Regions from separate parts of the Homo sapiens genome. Here regions 2 and 3 are each linked to region 1. Evidence: promoter capture Hi-C in 16 types of primary human blood cells and fetal thymus (Javierre and others, 2016). All regions are on one chromosome and are shown on one strand. Each heading gives the region's core, a stretch centred on a gene start or on the middle of the fragment in contact. The rest is flanking DNA. Distances are from core to core; before and after follow the strand shown.

The links. The method cuts DNA at HindIII sites, captures the fragments that hold promoters and counts their contacts. A CHiCAGO score of 5 or more calls a contact.
Region 2: a contact is called between a fragment that was not itself captured here and the fragment with the promoter of CDK18 in region 1, in 2 of 17 cell types (naive B cells and total B cells). The highest score is 5.4, in naive B cells.
Region 3: a contact is called between a fragment that was not itself captured here and the fragment with the promoter of CDK18 in region 1, in 6 of 17 cell types (endothelial precursors, total CD8 T cells, naive B cells and 3 more). The highest score is 8.4, in endothelial precursors.

The regions. Positions count from the first base shown.
Region 1 is chr1:205,502,778-205,506,544 of GRCh38, forward strand. CDK18 (cyclin dependent kinase 18) reads left to right here and starts at 1,892. Exons shown (of 16, transcript NM_212502.3): 1 at 1,892-2,019. The HindIII fragment of the contact is 14,965 bases long and covers 1-3,767 here.
Region 2 is chr1:205,258,326-205,262,092 of GRCh38, forward strand. All of the region lies in intron 2 of TMCC2 (transmembrane and coiled-coil domain family 2), which reads left to right. Among named protein-coding and RNA genes, the nearest start is that of TMCC2-AS1, 23 kb to the left of the region's middle. The HindIII fragment of the contact is 1,978 bases long and covers 854-2,831 here.
Region 3 is chr1:205,359,874-205,363,640 of GRCh38, forward strand. No RefSeq gene overlaps it. Among named protein-coding and RNA genes, the nearest start is that of KLHDC8A, 4.8 kb to the left of the region's middle. The HindIII fragment of the contact is 1,295 bases long and covers 1,206-2,500 here.

The DNA.
Region 1 (3,767 bases), core at 642-3,141:
CAGTGTCACCTCCACCCCAGACTTTAAGTTCTGACCTCATGGAACTGTGGGTCCATATTCTGTCACCCCTGCACTCTGCACAAGGGATTACCCCTCCTGGAAAAAACAGGGAAAATCCTTCCTCCTCTCTCTTGTCCCCTCATCCTGTAACCCTCACCTCAAGCAGAATAGCTCCTCCCAGGCATCCGTAACACTAAGCCTCCTCCTATAGCATCCTAACTGTTTGCTTCCCTGCCGCATTACACCAAGAGCTTCTTGAAGGCAGGGACTGGGTTATACTCATCTTATGTGCCCAGAGCCCTGGCTATCATTTGGCACATAAGAGATGTTGAGAAAGTGTTTGTGGAGACCTCTTGACTTCACCCCCCTAGTTCCTTGAAATTCTACCCTTTGGCCCCACTCTCTCTAATCCGCCAGTAAACAGTTCCTTGGCCATAGTCCTTCTCCCTTTCCCTCCCTGCCCCTTCCAAACCTCTTTATGGCCTCCTGCTCCCCAGGCTTCTCACCATCCACTGGACTACAGAGCCAGGAGGTTGCTGCACACCTAAAGGCTCTGGATCCATGCACCCCGACAACACTTGGCAGTTTCATTTTTAGGAAGTGCTGTGCCCAGGAAATCTGCATGCCTTGGCAGAGAAAGCGAGGTAAAAAAAAAAAAAAGAGTTGGGAGGCCCTCTGTGAGATGTCAACTACCCACAGGTCACTTTCATGCATGGGCCCAGTGTCTTCCTTCATTCTCCTGTCTCCAGCTGACAGTGGGACCTCAGGCCCATGTCTTCCAGAAGGAAACTGTTCTATTCTCAACAACTCACAGTCCCCAGGGAAAGGGTTCAGGTAGAAGCACATGTACACTGTGGAGCACCCCCTCCTAAGGAGACTTTCCCTGTGGGAGACCCCAGACTGCAGCAGCCAAGCCCTCTGGTAGGGCAGGGGACACAGACTGCCTTGATGAGGTGCCATAGAGCCAAGGCACACCTCCTCTCCTCACAGCCCTCAGGAGGAAGCAGAGATGAGAGGGGCCTGGCGGTGGGGCACTGTGCCCTTCACCCCCATCCCCAGATTTTTGTTTTGTTTTTTTTTTTGATCCTTGAAGTCAGATGATGTGGGTGCAATGGCCATTGGCCTGAGTTCTAATCATGGCTCGCCATGAACTCTTGTGGCACTTTAGGCCAGTTCAATTGCTTTGCTGGGCCTCAGTTTCCCCTTCTGTAAAATGAGAGTGCCACTAGCTGAACTAGCCATTCTGTAACCCTTCTTGGATGATTCTCAAATATCCTGTGGAGTTTAATTCCAAAAGGACAAGTTGAATTATCCTTCGGGGAGGGAAATGTGAATGATGGCTGGTAACAAGGGCTTCATTCAGGTCCTGGAGAGGTGGGAACTTTGTCCGGAAAGGTAAGTGACAAGTCCCACTGGATAGGGTAGAAGGGGAGCCCGAGGGCTACTATTGTCAAGAAAATGACCACCAAAATCTGTCCATGCACATTCGTTCCTAGGGCGCCAGGTACAGGGAGGTACCTAGGAGAGGTAGGAGCACCGCTTTTAGAGACAGGCAGGCACTCTCAGTGTACCCCTGGCGCCTTGGTGTCCTGGGGTGATCCAGTCCAGAAGGCCTCATCCCCTAGCCAAGGCTCTCAGGGCCGGTTTTAGAAACGAAACAGGAAGAGGCACTTGGACCCTGGTTCCCAGAGTGGGAGAAAGGGGTGGGCACCCGGGCAGAGGGAGCCCTGGGGATTGGTAGCGGCTGTGGGCAGGGCGGGAGGGCCGGGGGCGGAGTCAACTTGTACATGTGAAAAACTCTGGCGGGGGCCGGGCATTTTCCTTCCTCCTCCTCCTCCTCCTCCTCCTCCCTCCTCTTCCCCACCTTCCTCCACTCCCTCCCTTCCCCTCCCCTTCTACCTCCTCCTCGGCCAGCTCAGGTTGCAGCTTCTCTGGGGAACTGCTCACCTTTCCGGAGCAGGGGAAGCTGCCCCGTGCCCGGGAGGGAGCGGGCGCACCGCGGCCCCCAGGACACGCGCTGTGAGTCCCGCGGGCGGTGCGCCTGGGAGGAAGGGGGAGGTCGGAGGAGCGGGCACCGCGGCGCCGGGTATAAGGAGCAAAGGTAAGCGGAACGGCTCTTAAAGGCGCAGTTTTGCTTTTGCCCTGAGGCGAGAGGTTGGAGGGAAATACCGGAGCGGCGAGGGGAGAGCAGAGATCACGAGGCGTGATCTGTGTGATACTGTGTTGTGTGTTGAGGGGTGGGGGGTGCCCTCGAAAGGCCACTCGTAAGTTCCAGGTGCTTGAGAGGGAGGGTTATTTTGCAATCTCAGACCCCGCGCCCCCTTAGGGAGTCTCCATCTGGGATCACTTTGGCCCCTGGGCTCCCGTCTGAACCCTACAAAGCAAAGTTTTCCACCCAGTCCGGAACCAGGCGCTTTCTAAGCTCCCTTCATTCTGGGAAGGGCAAGGGTCAGGAGTCTCCAGGGACCAAAGGACCCGAGAGTGTGGGGCCACATCGCTGCCTTGAAGGGCTTCCTGGGCTCTGGTGAACTTTCCAGAGCGGCAGGCAGGGGGTGGGAGGCCGGAGCCCTGGGAAGAACGTGGAAGGACACGTGAAGCCCTGCAGGTCCCAGTTCTGGGGGAGGCAGGGGTCTGGGGAATGCTGCTGCTTCTCTCTTTCCACCCCGGAAGACCAAAGGGGCAGTGCCCCCCTCCACCCCTCATCAACAGGCGACAGAGGGTTAATGCAGCAGAGGGAAAGGAGGCTGGGTGGGGCCGGGGGGAGTGGGCGGTGACCTGTTGGGCTAAGGAGATGTGCCTTGAGGATTCTGCTGTAGTTGAGGGACACCATCAGGAATCTGAAATCCAAAATCGGGTCTGGACTGGAGGCCTCTGTTTTCGCCCTGTGGGGGGCGGGGATTCCCTGAAGGTGTCTGCAGACCTTGTGCTGGGTGGGAGTTGGGCTGCAGAAACAGTGAGGGGTTTTCTGTGCTGCAGGGTCAGCACCCTCCTAGGCACCAGCCCTGCCTCTCTTCATTCTCTCTGGGCACCTCCCGGCAGTCGGGGTGGGAGGATTGACACTGTGGGAGTGAGAGGCCCTGGAACCTCTTCCGCGCTATCTGCTACTGTCTCCCCTTCTTCCCCACCCCTAGCCCAGCCCTCGGCAGTTCCCCAGCTGTAGCCTGGGCCCTGTGACTCACTAACACCACCGGCTTGCCCCTCCTGTGTCAGCACCCAGTGAGCTTCGGCATGTTCGCGTGGCATTCCCCACCCGGGCATGGGCATGCAGCACATTCCTGGACACGGGCCTGAGAGGATGCCTGGAGCGCCTGGTGGACTGGCACGTCCTCAGAGATCCCCTGCCTTTAGCCTGGCCTTGGGAGGGGCCTGGGAAAACGGTGCTGAGGGTGCTGAGGGTCGGTGGAGTACAGGGCGACACTGGCTCCAGGTCCGGGTTTGCATCCTGAAGGCGTTCCAGAGAGAGGGTCACCTTGCCACAGCAAAGCTGCTATCTCGGGTTACCCTTTCCCAGCCACCTCTTGTGCAGCTGAGGAGGCTGTGGGGCTGACCCCTCCCCCACCCTTAATCTGGGGTGTACCTGACCATTGGGTTCCCAGGACTCTCCCCACTGGGTCCCCAGGACTCTCCCCATACCCTGCCAGGAGAATGGAAGAAGCTCTCCACGCGTGCCAGAAGAAGTTCTTCCCAAACTTATCGGGGGTGCCAGAGGCAGAGTAGACAAGCCTTAGTGGCCACCATTTGTTGAATATCTACTGTGCGCCAAGCAG
Region 2 (3,767 bases), core at 593-3,092, 240 kb before region 1:
GGCAGCTGGGGCCTTGCTACAGGGGTTTTGTCACCCCCTTGTGCCCATGGTGAACTGACTCAGGTCCATACTGCCCCACATGTGTCCCATTCAGTGTCTGAGCACGTGGTGCCTGCCCTCTTGAGAAAAGCCGCTTAGGCTCCCAGGCACCAATTAAACCGATAGGTAGGCTCTTTCTCCACCCCCACCCCTTTGCCCACCTGGGAGCACCCGGGTCAGCTGTGATGACACATCCAGAGCTGGAGTGAGCAGCTTCCTGTTACCCACATATCCTCACCAGGAAGGCAGAGAGCCACCAGCCCCACCGGGCTATTCCTGCTGAGTTGAAAAAATGGAATGGGGAAAGCCTCTGACTTCAGGACCAAGGGTTGGAATAATTTTTCCACCCTGCTCTTGCTGGAATGTTGGGTTGGTACAAGAAATTTCAAGTTCCTTCTCTCCCAACTTTACCGTAAGGTCACATGACCTCTTTGGGTTGAAGGATTTTAGCTGGCTGTAGGCTTTCCTCTCCATCCTAGTCTGGTTGACCTCCCCTTCCATCTGAGAATGGGTAGAAAAAGGGAATCTGAGCGTTCTTTATCCCGAGAGGGCCACTGAAATCAGAGTCACGGGGCAGCAGTCAGCAGATTGAAGCATCTCTGCTGAGTCACCCAGGCCTGCCAGCCCCGGGGCCGCACTCGCCTGCTGGGCTCTGACCCACTGGGAGCCCAGACCTTGCTCCCAGGAGCGGTGTTCTGCACAGGCCTGGGCCTGCTTGTCTAGACCCATAGACAAGCCAGGGTTGACACCTGACTCCATTGTCAGGATGACTGGGCTGCCCTGCTTTCCTAAAGGGAAGCATAGGAACCCCCAAAGCTTTTTCTTTGTCTTTTTTTTTTTTCCATCTAAGAGTGACCTTATATTGTCTTTCCAACTCCTGAGCAGATGGCTAACATGAGAAGGCCCCTTTCTCCCTGTCAGCCTGCTGTGGGGACCCTAACGGGTTCTTTGCGAGTCTGGGAAGGGGCTGCCTGCCTCAGAGGGAGGAGGGTCAGAGGTACAGCTTTCTCGTGCAGCTGGGAGCACAGGTGTGGAGCACATGTTCCTTGCAAATGGCAGCTGTTTCTGTGGTCTATCTTGAAAACTGCTTAATGCATTTACATTATGAAGAAAGAGAACCACGATTCACATTTCCCAATTTACATAGCTAGTGCCCTTCCCCTCCCTCCACACAGCTTCACTTAAGCCTGGATACTTTCTGTTCCAACAGTGTCTACTGTGTGCCTCCCGGATATCGGGGATCCAGGCTGCTGGGCTAGTGTGTGAGAGGAAGCACCGGTGTCCCATGTCCAGGGCCGGGTTGACACGAGGACACTGAGTTCAGGCCCTGGGAGGAGGTGGAAACCCCAGGAAGTTCCACGGGAGCCAGGGCTGGGAAGCCCTGATCCGGCAGCTCCTTATAATCTGGCAGAGAGCCTAATCCAGCTTCATTTAGTGTTGTGAAAGGGGCCAGGGAGGTGAGTCCGGGGTGCCACCAAGGCCATGTGGAGGGGAGCCCCCAGGTGTGCGTGGGCTGAGGGTAGATCTCACTGGAGCAGGAAGAGGAATAGGGAAAGTTGGGTCTTGGACACTTGAGAGAACGTCCCAGCTCTGGCTTATCCAGACATTTGTCAGCACTTCTCAGCCCTCAGCCTTTGTGTAGAGCAAGATGTAAGGCCCTGGCTGGTAGGGTCCCTGAGCAGGGGGCATTCTGGTGTGGAGGGGGATCATGGAAGAAGTATGACTCTCCCTCCACGGTTCTCCTCTTAGAGCTTGCCCAGCCCATTCACAAGGATTAATCTGGAGTCAGGTACCTGTGGAGTGGCCAGCCTATCTCAGGCAGGTTGGGGTGGGGTGAGGAGGTCATGGTGTGGGGGCCACAACTCCAGGTGTGGTGCTGGTGGCTGGGCATGGATAGGGAGCTGGGTGGCATGGGCCAAACAGGACTCTGTGATGGTCTGGAGAGAGGAGCAGTGGTTCCTGTGTAGCCCACCTGTGCCCTGCTTTGGGCTGGGGAACCTTGGGCATTTCTGCCTGCTACTGACTGGGAGTTGAGTGATCTGGTCTTTTTAGTCAACCAGCTGCACGACAGGGGTATTAGGAGTGTGTTAGGAAGAGCTGCTACCCTACTAAACCTGACACAGTGAGCTGAAGGACCCAGAGACCCTCCTGCATACCCACTCTGTAATGGACAATGGTGGGAGCTGTGGCCCAGGCCAGTGGAGGACCCTGGCCTTCCACACCCAATTGTTGAAACATCACCTCCATCTAGTTCCTAAACATTTTCAGCAACCCCAAGGAAACCCTGTACCCATTAAGCTGTTACTCCCCATTCCTTCCCCCACCCCCACCCCAGCCCCCTGGCAGCCACTAATCAGCTTTCTGTCTCTGTGGATTTAACTGTTCTGGATATTTCATATAATGGAATCATTCATTATGTGGCCTTTCTTGTCTGGTTTGTTTCACTTAGCCTAACATTATTGAGGTTCACCCATGTTGGAGCATTACCGGCACTTTGTTTCTTTCATGGCCGAATAGTATTTCATTGCAAGAAATGTCACATTTTGTTGACCCATTCATCAGTTAATGGACATCTGAGTTATGTCCACCTTTTGGCTATTGTGAATATTGCTGCTATGAGCATTTGTGTACAAATGAGTGTTGAATACTCATTTTCAATTCGTTTGGGAATTGAAAATATCTAGGAGTGGAATTGCTGGGTCATAAAGTAATTCTATGTTAACTTTTTGAGGAACTCCCAAACTGTTTTCCACATCAGCTGTGCTGTTTTATGTTTTAGGTATGTTGCACAAAGCTTCCAATTCCTGCACATGCTCACCAACACTTATTTCCTTTTTTTTTTTTTTTTTTTTTTGAAGCAGGGTCTCACTCTGTTGCCCAGGCTGGAGTGCAGTGGTGTGTGTGATCATAGCTCACTGCAGCCTCGAACTCCTGGGCTCAAGCCATCCTCCTGCCTCAGCTTCCTGAGTAGCTGGGACTACAGGCATGCACCACCACACCTGGCTGTTTTTTTATTTTTTGTAGAGACAGGTCTTGCTGTGTTGCCCAGGCTGGTCTTAAACTCCTGGACTCAAGCAATTTTCCCATTTTGGCCTCCAAAAGTGCTGGGACCACAGGTGTGAGCCGCTGTGTGCAGCCCACTTATTTCCTTTCTAAAAATTACTAGGGGCTGGGCTTGGTGACTCATGCCTGTGGCCCCAGCTACTTAGGAAGCTGAGGTGGGAGGATTGCTTAAGCCTGGGACGTCGAGACTACAGTGATCCACGATCATGCCATTGCACTCCAGTCTAGGCCATGGAGTGAGAACCCGTCTCAAAAAAAAAAAAATTATTATAGTCATTCTAAGGGTGTGAAGCGTCTCTTAATTTGTTCGTATTTGTTTCTAAGCACCTGCTTTATGCCCTTTACTCAGTGTTTCATCTCATCGTCCTGATAGCTCTCAGCTGGTAAGTGACAGAGCCAGGATCTAAATTAGTGCCCAACTCCAACTTTAAAGCCCTTTCCTTTACCTTCCGCAGACCCTGTATCCTGTCTCATGGCTGTTCTTTTTGGCAAGTCTTTCTCCTTTTCTCACCCTCTGTCCTGTTCCAGCACTCTGAACAGCTTTCTCATCTTTTTCTTCTTGTTCACTAATTTTCTTTCCTTTGTTAAAGCATAATCTTTCCTTTGTTAAAGCTGTCCCTATCTGTGTACCAGCTCCTTGGCTCTGTTTACCTTGGTTGCCCTCT
Region 3 (3,767 bases), core at 603-3,102, 140 kb before region 1:
TCTGATATTCAGTGACAGAATAAAGTTTGTTCCAGCCGAAATTAGCAGGCTAGGGTCCAGGTTAAAATGCAAACAAAGAAAGCAGCCCAGAGGCAGCTGGGATTCTGGGACACAGATAAGTCACAAAGCTGGGTTTATCTGCAGGGTTCAGGATTGATCAGCTCAGCGTATATTTCCAAGGCTCTTCTCTACTCAGCCACCCCTCCCAGCTCAAAAAACAAGAGGCCCACACCAAAATATAAAAAGGTGCTGGATCTAAAATCCTGCCTAATTTAAGCTCTGCTCACAAAGGAGGCCAGAGAGCAGAGGGAGGGGTGGAAATCAAATAAGTAAATGTCAGCCCTGCAGTTGGGTAGAAGCCATTAGCCAGGCAGAGCATCCAATTAGAAGCCATTGAATTAGAGCAGTGAAAGAAGGGCCTCACGTCAGAGGGCACTGCGGGGAGGGCCGGCACAAGTGGGCAGGAAGGAACGCGGGGTGGCGATCAATGGAGGATTACCGGAAGATGTGCAAATGGCAGGAACAGATGCCTTCCAAATGACAGGGCACCCGGTCCAGATACTCTACATAAAATGCCCACATGGTTCCTTTGTCCTCCCCCAAATCCTGTCTGAGGGAGTCCAGCCATCTCATGGGCTATTTTGGAAAACACTGCTCCCTTTTGCCTCAACCCAGAGATAAAATGGGCAGCTCTCAGCCACTCTCGGATTAATCTGAACAGACAAAGAAGGGGAGCAAATCCCTTGGCAAATGGTGCCTGGGAGATTTCATTTTTCCGCTTTGCAGTACAAACCTACTCAAACAGATACTAAAATACAAAGCGAAGTTTGTTCACATGGAGATGTTTTTATTTAAAACTATAATATTATTTTATTTTGTAATCAGTAATTGTCAATGCTCAATCTTTTTTTTTTTAACAAATTCTTATTTCCTTGTTCAGAGAAGAAAAAGATTCACATTTCCTTCCTTTCTCCTAAATTAGAAGATTTCAGATTCAGTCTCTTAGAAGCCACGTAATTTGCCTGTGATGCCCATGTCCCACTGATCCTAGAACTTTAGGGAGAAAAGTCCACTGTGAAAATAAAAATAGAAAGTAGTTCTGATTTAGGACAATCGAGTCTTACATATTCATTTAACAACCAGCTAATGGCACCTCCTGAGTACGCAGCATGAGCTGGCAGAGCACATTGGTCTGGTGCTCAGGAAGCTTCCAGGCTCAGGCAGGGTTAAGACACAAGGCTAGCCTCTGCAGAGTGGAAGGAAGCATGTGTTACGGGACACACAATGGGTCTGCTCTTTGCGCTTTGGGAGTGGAGAGGAAGAAGTAATCATAACTATCAGAGGATGCCAGAGAAGACCTTGTGGGAGAGAGGGTCTTTGAGCAGGGCCTTTGAAGAGGTGTCAGATTTGGGTCAAAATGAGTCGGGGGCATTCCAAGAAGATACAGTGCATCGATGTTGCAGACTGGAATGTGGTTGAGACTAACTGTAGGGCTACCAGATACAACAGAGGATGCCCAGTTAAATCTGAATATTTAGGATATCCCAAAAAACGATTTGTTGTTTAAAATTAAGATTTAAGTGAGTATCTTTTACCCACTGTCTATTTTTTACCCCGTCTATTATTCCTAGAAATTTCTCTTTGTTTTTGGTAGAGTTGGGATCTCACTTTGTTGCCCAGGCTGGTCTTGAACTCCTGGACTCGATTGAACCTCCCACCTCAGCCTTCCAAAGTGCTGGGATTACAAGCATGAGCCACCACGCCCGGCCCAACATTTTTATTTCCTGAATCTGGCAACCTCATGACAAGAGCAAATGACCACTCTCATACTTGGAGTTTCCTGCAGCCTGCCCAACTCCAAAGTTGCCTTGTGAGTTCTGAAAGGAACTGGGAATGGCAGCCCTTGCTTGGATGTCATGTCAGAGGACTAGGCACAGTGGTTGACACCTGTAATCCCAGCTCTTGGGAGACTGAGGCAGGAAAATGCTTGAAGCCAGGAGTTTTAGACAAGCCTGGGCACCATAGTGAGACACCTGCAACACCTCCCACCCCCAATCTCTATCAAAAAAAATTAGCCAGGGACAGTTAAATGTGCGTGTAGTCCTAGCTGCTCAGGAGGCTGAGGCAAGAGGATCACTTGAGCCCAGGAGTTCAAGGCTGCAGTGAGCTATGATCACACATCATTGCATTCTAACCTGGGAGATAGAGTGAGACCATGTCTCTTAAAAAAAAAAAAAAAAAAAGAGCGGCGCTTCTCAGAAGGCAGTAGAGAGACCTTGAAAGTTTTTGAGCCAAGAAGTGAAGTGATCAGAGCAGTGTTTGGAATATTAATCTGGCAGCAGCATAAACAGTGTTTAGTCCAGGAGAAGAGTTTCATGATAAGGAGATCACATAGTCTTCCTTTGTGATTATTTGTGGGGCACCCACTATGTGCCAGACACAATGCTAAACACCAGGGGCATGATGGTGAAAAAGAAATGTATAGTTCCTCTCTTAGTGAAGCTTATGAATAAATTAACAAGCAATTGATTTCAATAAAGGGAGGTGCATTTCATCAGAGAAGAACTTGGCCTACTTAGAAGATTATCAAAATAGCCTACTGGTGAGAAGATGAGGACCTAAATTAGGGTCATGGAAATGGGAATGTAAGATGTTTTTGCAAAGCGAGATTTTAGAATATATTCAGGACATGATCAAGTGATTTGACTCTTAATTACAAGCATAGTTGGAGCAGGAGAAAAACAGATCATTAAAATCCAGAGATAACCCCAAATGCCAATTACTCAGGCGTTTCATGCTTCTCTCTCATCCATGGGTTATGACTGTATTTGTGTCTTTATGCACACACAAAACAGTAAAGCATAGTGGTTTCGAGAAAGAGCTTCAAAGACCTAAATGTAAGAGCTAAAACTATACAACTCTCCGGAGAAAACATAAGCATAAATCTTAATGACCTTGGAGTAGGCAATGTTTTCTTAGATATGACAGGAAAGCGCAAGCAACAAAAGGAAAAAATAGATACGTTGTAGCATGTATCAGTACTTTCTTTTTTGCCTAACAATATTTCATTGTATGAATATTCCATGTTTTATTTATCTATTCATCAGTTGACAGGATTTCTTTTAGGGCTGATAAAATGTTCTAAAATTGATTGTGGTGAGGGTTGCACAAATCCATTTGGCAAAAGCCATTGAATTGTACATTTTAAATGGCTGAATTGTGTGGTGTGTGAATTATTTCTCGACAAAGCTGTGTTTCTTTTTAAAGAGCAAAGCCTTGAGCATCAGATAGATATGGGTTCATATCCTAGTTCTCTGCTTGACCCTGAATAAATCAACTTTCTGAGTCTCAGTTTCTTCATCTGTAAAATCGGATTATTATAGTACCTATTTCACAGGACTGTTGAGAGGATTAAATGAAATAATGTGTGTAAAATACTTAGCACAATTCCAGGCATATAAGCTTTATTATTATTTTTTTTATGTTGCCTAGGCTGGTCTCAATCTCCTGGGCTCCAGTGATCCTCCCGCCTTAGCCTCCCAAAGTGCTGAGATTACAGGCGTGAGCCAGCGCACCCAGCCTATAATAAGCTTTTAATTAATGTGACTTATACTAGTAAGGTTGGATGATTAGCAACTTTAGTGTGTGACCACAGACCATCCTTAATTCTAGCACCTTAAGTTATACAAGGGTATTCCCTGAAAACGTCATGGGACTAGGTATACATTTAGGGAAGTAACAGCTGTGCAATCCCACATATCATTTCA